2 separate regions of the Homo sapiens genome follow, and region 2 is linked to region 1. The links are contacts of gene promoters, found by promoter capture Hi-C in human tissues and cell types (Jung and others, 2019). All regions are on one chromosome and are shown on one strand. The core of a region is centred on a gene start or on the middle of the fragment in contact, and the rest is flanking DNA. Distances in the headings are between cores, read along the strand shown.

Region 1 (4,320 bases), core at 1,335-3,834:
TGGTATGAGAGGGGATGGTAATAGAGAGGTGAGAGTTTTAATGTTTCTTTTTAAATTAAAAATTATTATAAATAAAGTTGAAGTCTTTGTTTTACTAAAAAAATTAAGAATTTGTTTTCGTTTCCTTCATATGGGTCCATTATCTTTACCATGTCAATTTTCATTTATGTTTTGCTGAAGTCAGAGAAACATTTCATTAAAAAATGAATAAATAGCAAATCAAGTAAATCATAAATAATTAAAGCAAATAAGGGAAAACTATTATTAAATAATGATAACAGTGCTGCCTGGACGTGACCAAAAACAAATGAGTAAGTTGTATTTGAATGGTTAAACTGGATACTTCTTCAGATAGGAAACACCAAACTTTTCTCTTACCAATTGACTCTTGACCAGCTGTTTTATGTTGATGGGAGGAGAGGAAAAACTAGAATCACCCACCCCTAGACATTTGGCTCCTAGCGCTAAGGATGAAATGCTGTCCCGAGGACAGTGTGGAGGGTTCTGTCATCTAGTGTGTCATAACTTCTACAGCCTGCAGCTTCCTGGTCTGCTTACTTACAAGAACATCTCTGCAGAGAAAGCAGAAGATAAAATACAGGAATACAAAAAGAAGCGAGATGATCACATCCCATTCCTTTATGTTACACATTACACATAGGTGATGCTGACTTGGAAGTGTGTGCAGGTTGTGTGGCTGCTGAGACTTTGACAGAAGGCAGGGGACACTAGCTGCACAAAGGAGGTTGCAGGCTTTCCCACCAAGTGGATGGAAAGCCAGTGTCACGTGCTGGGGAACTGCTGCAACTCTTTCCTCATCACCTAGTTATCTTCAAGCCAGTTTTATTAGAAGAAGCCCCTGACATTAAGAGTGACACCATGCAGGAAAAAGTCTTCTCATGTTTTAATATTAGTTACTTACAAATGAGTAACAAGTAACTGTAGCTACATTTATTGAACATTTCCTATCTGCTAAAGACCGTACATTTTACACACGTCATCTAGTTTAATTTTTGTAATGACTCATGAGGTTCTGTGATTATTTCTTTTTACAGATGAAGAAACATAGATTTGAGGAAGTTAATAAATATGTTCCAGATTATACCTATAGTAAATACTGGCGCTAGGAATGGAGCCTAGATCGTCTGACTCTGGAACTTGTGTTAAACCCATTTGAACCTGTAAATAACTCTGTGGATTAAGAACAAAGATTATTTCCATTTTATGGAGGAGTGGCAGAAAAGTGTGGTGGTTAGGAGAGCAAATGTAAGTGTTAGAAGAGTCCATTTTGATTCCGGTTCTGTCGTTTATCAGTTGTGAATTTGGGAAATGTATCTAACTCCTCTGAGATTTACAATGTCCTCAAATATCAAGATGTAGAGAACACTTAATCTCTTAGGGCCTCTCTGTCTTTGCCATCATCATCATGGTTATTACGTACTTTGGATTTTCTCATCTTAATTTTTTCTCCTACCTGAAATTGCCATGTTATTCCCCTTAAACCCTTAGATTAAGAGATGGCTGCAATGTACTACTATGCTGCTAATAGTAAATATTTATTGTACACTTACTATATGCCAAGTGCTTTTAGTGCATTATCTCATTCAATCTTTACAACCCCTCCACGAGATAAATACTGGTGTCATCTATAATTTATAGTTAGAAACAGAACTCGCCTAGAACTGGACATTGCTGATTTCACTTCCCCCTTTTCCTGCCCACCACCCTGACTGCCAACTGACTTCGGAACTCCAAAAAGGCATCCATGAAAACGACAGGAATTGCCTGCAGGAAATTGAATGCTCCAGGAGTTTGACACTAAAAAGATTGGGAACTGTCCACCAACTTGTGCTACCGAGAATAGTGGTTGTTGAAAGGAATTTCGGTCTCTATCCAAACTTACTTTTCCTCAGGGATGTGTCAATTACCTCCAAGTCCTGTTCAGAAGGGTAGCTGGAAAAACAGTGAAACCAAGTAACTCACCTGAGAACAAGCCGGGAGTAGTGCAAAGGAATCAACCAGACTCTTAATTTATTACAAAGTCCAGCCACTCCGTTTGCTTTCTAAAAACCTTGTTGCCTGGTATTGAGTAAAAGATGCTATAAAGGACGAACACGTTTGGAAGTAATAATAATCTGCTATTATGCGACATAATTTTCTCCACATTTGTTGTTATTTTTCTGATAATAAATTTCATACTTTTTATTGGAAAACCACAGAAAATGCAAAAAATAGCTAAGCCGTTGGTATGTTTCTATCTAGATTTCAATTAAATTTTAATTATTCTCTCCCCGTGCCTAGCCCCCCTTGCCCCATTTTTAAAAAGACCTGGAGTTCAGGGTAGGAGACATCAAGAGCATCCTAGAGGGCAGCAGCACAAATTCACTCCCCTCCAGACCCTGCAGCTTGCTTCGCCCATCTCCCCTCCCCCTGAGCTTGGTCGCTTATCATTGGTCATTGCCATGGCAACCAGCAGCTGCCGGGCCAGCAGCCTCTACCGCAGCAGGGGTGGGGCACTGGGGGAGGGGGAGAGAGAGAGGAGGAGCCAGAGGAGGTGTCTGCTGCAAGTTCCTGGCTGCTTCCGAGCTCACCCCATCCTCCGAGAGGGAGGAGGCCCAACTGGTGATGCTGCTGCTGCTGCTGCTGCCGCCGCCGCCGCCTCTATTGCTGATACTCTAGTGGGGCTGGAAGGGTGGTTCCTATTCGCACCATCGCCAACCAGAGACAGAGGGAAAAAAAAAACCGGCAGCCACTGCTGATGTTGGGTTCGGAGGCTGCATCCGACTCGGTCACAAGGAAAATGGATTCAGTTTGCATCTCTCCCTCCTTTAAACAGCTTCTCCGGGTCTCAGCATGGTGAGTAGGAAACAGTAGGGCTCCCTTCTTGGTTTAGAGTGTTCTTATTTGACCTGTGTATACATTTCTGGCCTGAACTTGAACAATGACTCCCGTGCCTCAGACTAGAAGGGGGAGATGTGGAGACAGAGATGAGGATGGAGGGAGAGGAAGCTTGCCAGGAAGAGAGAAGTGAGAAGACAACCTCTTGTGTTTAAAAAAAAAAAATGGTGTTCTGATTTTATCTCTAACTGGCTCAGAATGCAGACTGAGCCACTTGGTGCCTTTTTTCCTAAGCTTAGCAACAGCATCAGGGGTTGGAAAAAGAGCTAACAACAAGAAGAGGGTGTTATTGAAAGGAATCATTTCATTTGCAGCTCTCACATACAGGGTTGGGCCTTCTTCAGAAATACATTTGGTGTCTCATAAGCTTACCAGACTCATTATAAGGTGGTTTTGCTTATTTTATTGATTGCTTAGAAAAAGTGGCCCCAGAATTTGACATTTTATTTTATATTCTAATATACTCTTGTTGAGAAATCATTTGCAAGACCCAGTTTTATTTTATACGTAGATTTGACTGTGAACTTACACATGTATATCTTATGGATATACAGATCATATATACACATGTCACTTAGCATTTATATTGCATTTATGAAGCATATTTATATGTAGGGTGTGCTTTGCAACCATTTTTATGGGTTACATATGTCCTTGCATGCCTGGAAGTAATTGCATGTTTTTGAAACTATGCTTCTGGTTTATATTATTATTCATTGGCTTTATTTGGATTAATGTGAAATTTACTCTGGTTATTGTCCCTTAGTTTCATTGTGACCGATTGGAACAGATGCCTATCGTTTGATCTGTGTCATAGAACTAGATGCAAATTTGTAGCCTGCCTCTTTATTTTTAATTGGGTTTGTGGGGGATGATATTGAGGACTCTGAATTTACAATGATGGGAATGGGAGGCGGTTTGTGGTATTATTTTGTGTCTAGCATCTTACCAAATCAATGTTGAAGCAAATCAGTTTTCTTGAAATGCCACCCCAACCTTTTCATGTTTGTGCCTTGTGTCCCAGGAAGCACAGCTAAGCTGGAAGGTGAAATGTATTCATTTTATTTAATAGTGCTGCTATCTGATGTTCATTCCTTCAGTATCCAGGAACCATTTCACAGTTCTCTCAGATGTTGTATTAAGGGTCTCCTTCTGTAAATAATTAAGTAGGAAAGTAGGATTGTTTTGAAAATCTAGGTATTCCCAAGCACCCTAGCCCAGCCGTTTCCAAATTAGTCTGCTTATACAATGAAATGAAACCAGAGAGTGAGCAAAGCGAGCAGGAGAATGTGTGGCTTGTAGCTGAAATGGGGGTCTATTGTAATTTACAAATGCTTACTGGGATCTGCTTGACCTTTTATTATGTCAAGGCTTTAAGGCAGTTCAGGAGACTAAAGATGCGTGAGATGAGGAGGTTCCATT
Region 2 (4,320 bases), core at 727-3,226, 50 kb after region 1:
AAAAAGGCGTTCCTTTTTTTTTTTTGTATTATAGTATAAGTTCTGGGATACATGGGCAGAATGTGCAGGCTTGTTACATAGGTATACATGTGCCATGGTGGTTTGCTGCACCCATCAACCCGTCATCAACATTAGGTATTTCTCCTAATGCTGTCCCTCCCCTAGCCCCCCCACCCTCCAACAGGCCCCGTTGTGTGATGTTCCCCCCTCTGTCCATATGTTCTCATTGTTCAGCTCCCACTTATGAGTGAGAACATGTGGTGTTTGGTTTTCTGTTCCTGTGTTAGTTTGCTGAGAATGATGGTTTCCAGCTTCATCCATGTCCCTGGGAAGGACATGAACTCATTATTTTTTATGGCTGCATAGCATTCCATGGTGTATATTTGCCACATCCTATTTCTCCACATCCTCTCCAGCATCTGTTGTTTCCTGACTTTTTAATGATCACCATTCTAACTGACATGCGATGGTATCTCATTGTGGTTTTGATTTGCATTTCTCTAATGACTAGTGATAATGAGCTTTTTTTCATATGTTTATTGGCCACATAAATGTCTTATTTTGAGAAGTGTTTGTTCATATCCTTCACCCACTGTTGGTGGGAGGGTAATTTAGTTCAACCATTGTGGAAGACAGTGTGGCAATTCCTCAAGGTTCTAGAGCCAGATATACCATTTGACCCAGCAATCCCATTACTGAGTATATACCCAAAGGATTATAAATCATTCTTACTATAAAGACACCTGCACACATATGTTTACTGCAGCAGTGTTCACAATAGCAAAGACTTGGAACCAACCCAAGTGCCCATCAATGATAGACTGGTTAAAGAAAATGTGGCACATATACACCATGGAATACTATGCAGCCATAAAAAAGGATGAGTTTGTGTCCTTTGTAGGGACATGGATGAAACTGGAAACCATCATTCTCAGCAAACTGACACAGGAGCAGAAAACCGAACACTGCATGTTCTCACTCATAAGTGGGAGTCCAACAATGAGAACACATGGACACAGGGAGGGGGACATCACGCACCGGGGCCTGTCAGCGGGTGGGAGAGTAGGGGAGGGACAGCATTAGGAGAAATACCTAATGTAAATGATGGGTTGATGGGTGCAGCAAACCATCATGGCACATGTATACCTGTGTAACAAACCTGCATGTTCTGCACATGTATCCCAGAACTTAAAGTATAATAAAAAAAGATAAATATTTTTAAAAATTGCTTTCTCCAAAGGGTGAGTGAAGTGCCTGACCAGAAGGCATAGGGAGCAAAGTGGAAAGTGCCAGCACAAAAGGATAATAATTAGGAAAGGCAAGAATGAGGCAGCTCAGTAACAGCATAAACATAAAGACATTCTTTGTTCATTCCATCCCTTTTTGAGCACAGCTCAGCATGGACTGAAATTGTCCATTTCAGCTTTTGTATCTGAGTTGCTCTCACATCTAAAGTGAATTATATTATCATGAGTAACATTTTTGTCTATTTTTTGTCCACATTTACTCAATAAGCATTCCTGATGACAACTACCTGTCAACTATTGTGCTCATCAATGAGGATGAAACGATTGATACCATCTCTCTCCTTAAGAATTTCAGAGTTTAATGGATTGAAAAAATCCTCACCTAAACCATGAGTTAATTATAAGTTGTTTTGCACAGCCAATCTCTATCAACTTAAAATTCTGTAAGCATTATAAGGATCTTAATTTTGGATATTTCTTTGAAGGTGCCAGGAAGACAGAAGAATTCTAATACAATGCTTTGAGATCAAATGGCAGAATGGTGTTAGATATTTCAGAACATAATACCATAAAAGATAAACATCACAGCGTGAAATTAAGAATAAAATCAAATGCCAGAAAAACCTGGGTTTAAATCGTGTGATCCCAGCTGTGAGACACTGGGCAAGCTAGTTAACCTTTCTAAGGCTTAGTTTCTTTACTGAAATAATATAGTGAAAGCACTTACATTGTGGGGTTTTGTGAGGATTAATGACATCATGCAAATAAAGTTCTTTGCACCTAGTAAATGTTCAATATACAGTTGCTATTATTATTTTAATAGTAGTATTACCTCATTATTACTATCTGAATACAATTAGCCTTATGTTTTCTCCTATATCCACCATTGAGGCAGACAAGGAGAAATAGCTGCAGTTAAATTCTAACATACTCTTACAAGAGATAGAGCCATCTCTGTTTTCTGTGTTGATAATTAGCAGCTGTGAATAGAACGCTGGCAGCTCCACAAACGCATGGTGAAAGAGAAGAACATTAAGAATCTATCCAGCAAGATGGGGGAAGGGCACAAAAATGGCAATTATTGTAAATGAAGCCACTAAACATTTTTATAGTTATTTTGGGCATTGTAAGAAATACATGGATTCACATGGGATGCTTTCTTAGATGCCATTTAATCAAAGCTTTATACAGAGTCTATTAAGTGTGCTGAGAAGAATTCACTAAACATAGACTGGAAACCTAAAGGGGTAAAAATTTGGAAGTGCAAACCGGGAGTCTGTATTTACCACCTTTCTTTGAGGAAAACTCAGGGATGGAAAAGAGATCACCCATGCAGATTAGAATTTACCTTGCAACTACTTGGCAATATTTAGTTTTAAAAACCCACGTAATAATACAACATGTTCCAAGATTTTCTGTAGTGATGTTTTGTATGCACAACACACTGATTCTAATTGAAATGCTGAGTGGTTTTCTTCTCCAAGGCTCAAATTCTTGATACATCGTCTGAATATCAAATACCCAGAACAATGCTGCAACACTGGGAGATGTGCAAATAAATGTGTTGCGTCGGGTTTCTGCCATGATACCAAGAACAGCTAATCATCCTCAGCCCCAGATGGCTGGAAACAAAATAGTTTTGAAATCTAGGTGACCTATTTTTCAAAACTTTTGTTGCAGTTGTCTTGGAAGAAAATAATCTGGATAAAAGGAAGAAGGAGGCATTGCTGTGCTTGCAGAGACTCTAAATCCAAAGGTCTTCCTGGGTAAACATGACGATTAATTTAAAGGAAAATAATCTAGATAAAAAGAATAAGGCATTGCTGTGCTTGCTGGGACTGTAAATCCAAAGGTCTTCTTCCTAGAAAAACATGACCATTAATTTAAGAGATCACGAACTTAAGTATGTTATTTGAGAAACTGCTACTTTCACAACTTCTGCAAAAGCCTCATTGAGAATCCTTCCAAACAGTCCTCATTTATTCCCAAGGCTTCAGAAGTAAGAGTATTATGTATAATTTATTGTCCAGACCTGGGCACTTTTAGAACACTGCTAATAGTCGTACCAGGACAGCAGGTGTAAAGTTAGTCTTTCGTGAGCTACTTGAAATATTACCATTGCTTTACCCAGAAGTGTAAATTACCTCGCAACCCCCCAAAGGATTTATTTCATCTTTCATGATTTCTTTTTCTAAAAATTCCAAGCAGTGCCTTTTATGGTCAAACCAGATCGTCGTGGTCTCATTGAAATCTCTCCCCTTGTCCATCCAAAATAGAACTGACGTGACCCTTGTTTCTGCATTGCATTGCCTCTGTGAATCTGGCCGGGGACACTCACTTTCATTTCCTGCCCATTCATTTTGTTCCAATCTAACAACTTGGCCTCAATTCTTCTGTTAAAGAAAAAATTATTCAATGTTATTTGTTAAAGCATGGTTAAAAAAAAAATCCTTTATTCAGGACCATCATGATAAATATAGGGACCACTGTGACAGTCTTGCAGTGGGGGAGAGAGATTGAGCTCACCTCCTAATACAGCATGAGCAAGTGGGAATGTATAGCCAAGAAGCAGAGTGAGGGTCAGTGGAAGGAAAATTACCAACAGCAAACATCAGCGGTAAGGGAAATTCTGACTAAACTGAACTAATAGGATTCTGGCTTAAGATAGGGCAGGATGGGCTGGGTGTGGTGGCTCACACCTGTAATCCCAGCACTTTGGGAGGCTGAGGCCGGCGGCTCATGAGGTCAGGAGTTCAAGACCAGCCTGGCCAACATAGTGAAACCCTGTCTCTACTAAAAACACAAAAATTAGCCAGACATGGTGGCGTGTGCCTCTAGTCCCAGCTACTAGGGAGGCTGAGGCAGGAGAATCACTTGAACCCGGGAGGTGGAAGTTGCAGTGAGCCAAGATTGCACCACTGCACTCCAGCCTGGCGACAGAGCGAGACTCCACCTCAAAAAAACAATAACAAAAAAAAAAAATAGGGCAAGATGATCCGATATCACATGGGAGGCAGTGGAGGATGAGGAACCTAATCATATATTGAGGGTGATCAGATGTTGAGGGTGGAGG

What was found. The method cuts DNA at HindIII sites, captures the fragments that hold promoters and counts their contacts. A contact is called where the count stands out against the background at its distance.
Region 2: a contact is called between a fragment that was not itself captured here and the fragment with the promoter of JAKMIP2 in region 1, in 1 of the 25 tissues and cell types used here (hippocampus).

The regions. Positions count from the first base shown.
Region 1 is chr5:147,780,992-147,785,311 of GRCh38, reverse strand. It overlaps JAKMIP2 (janus kinase and microtubule interacting protein 2), which reads left to right and starts at 2,584. Exons shown (of 22, transcript NM_001270941.2): 1 at 2,584-2,856. The HindIII fragment of the contact is 11,129 bases long and covers 1-4,320 here.
Region 2 is chr5:147,730,358-147,734,677 of GRCh38, reverse strand. The region is part of intron 1 of JAKMIP2 (janus kinase and microtubule interacting protein 2); the gene reads left to right. All of the region lies in intron 2 of LOC105378218 (a long non-coding RNA gene), which reads right to left. Among named protein-coding and RNA genes, the nearest start is that of JAKMIP2, 50 kb to the left of the region's middle. The HindIII fragment of the contact is 5,993 bases long and covers 1-4,320 here.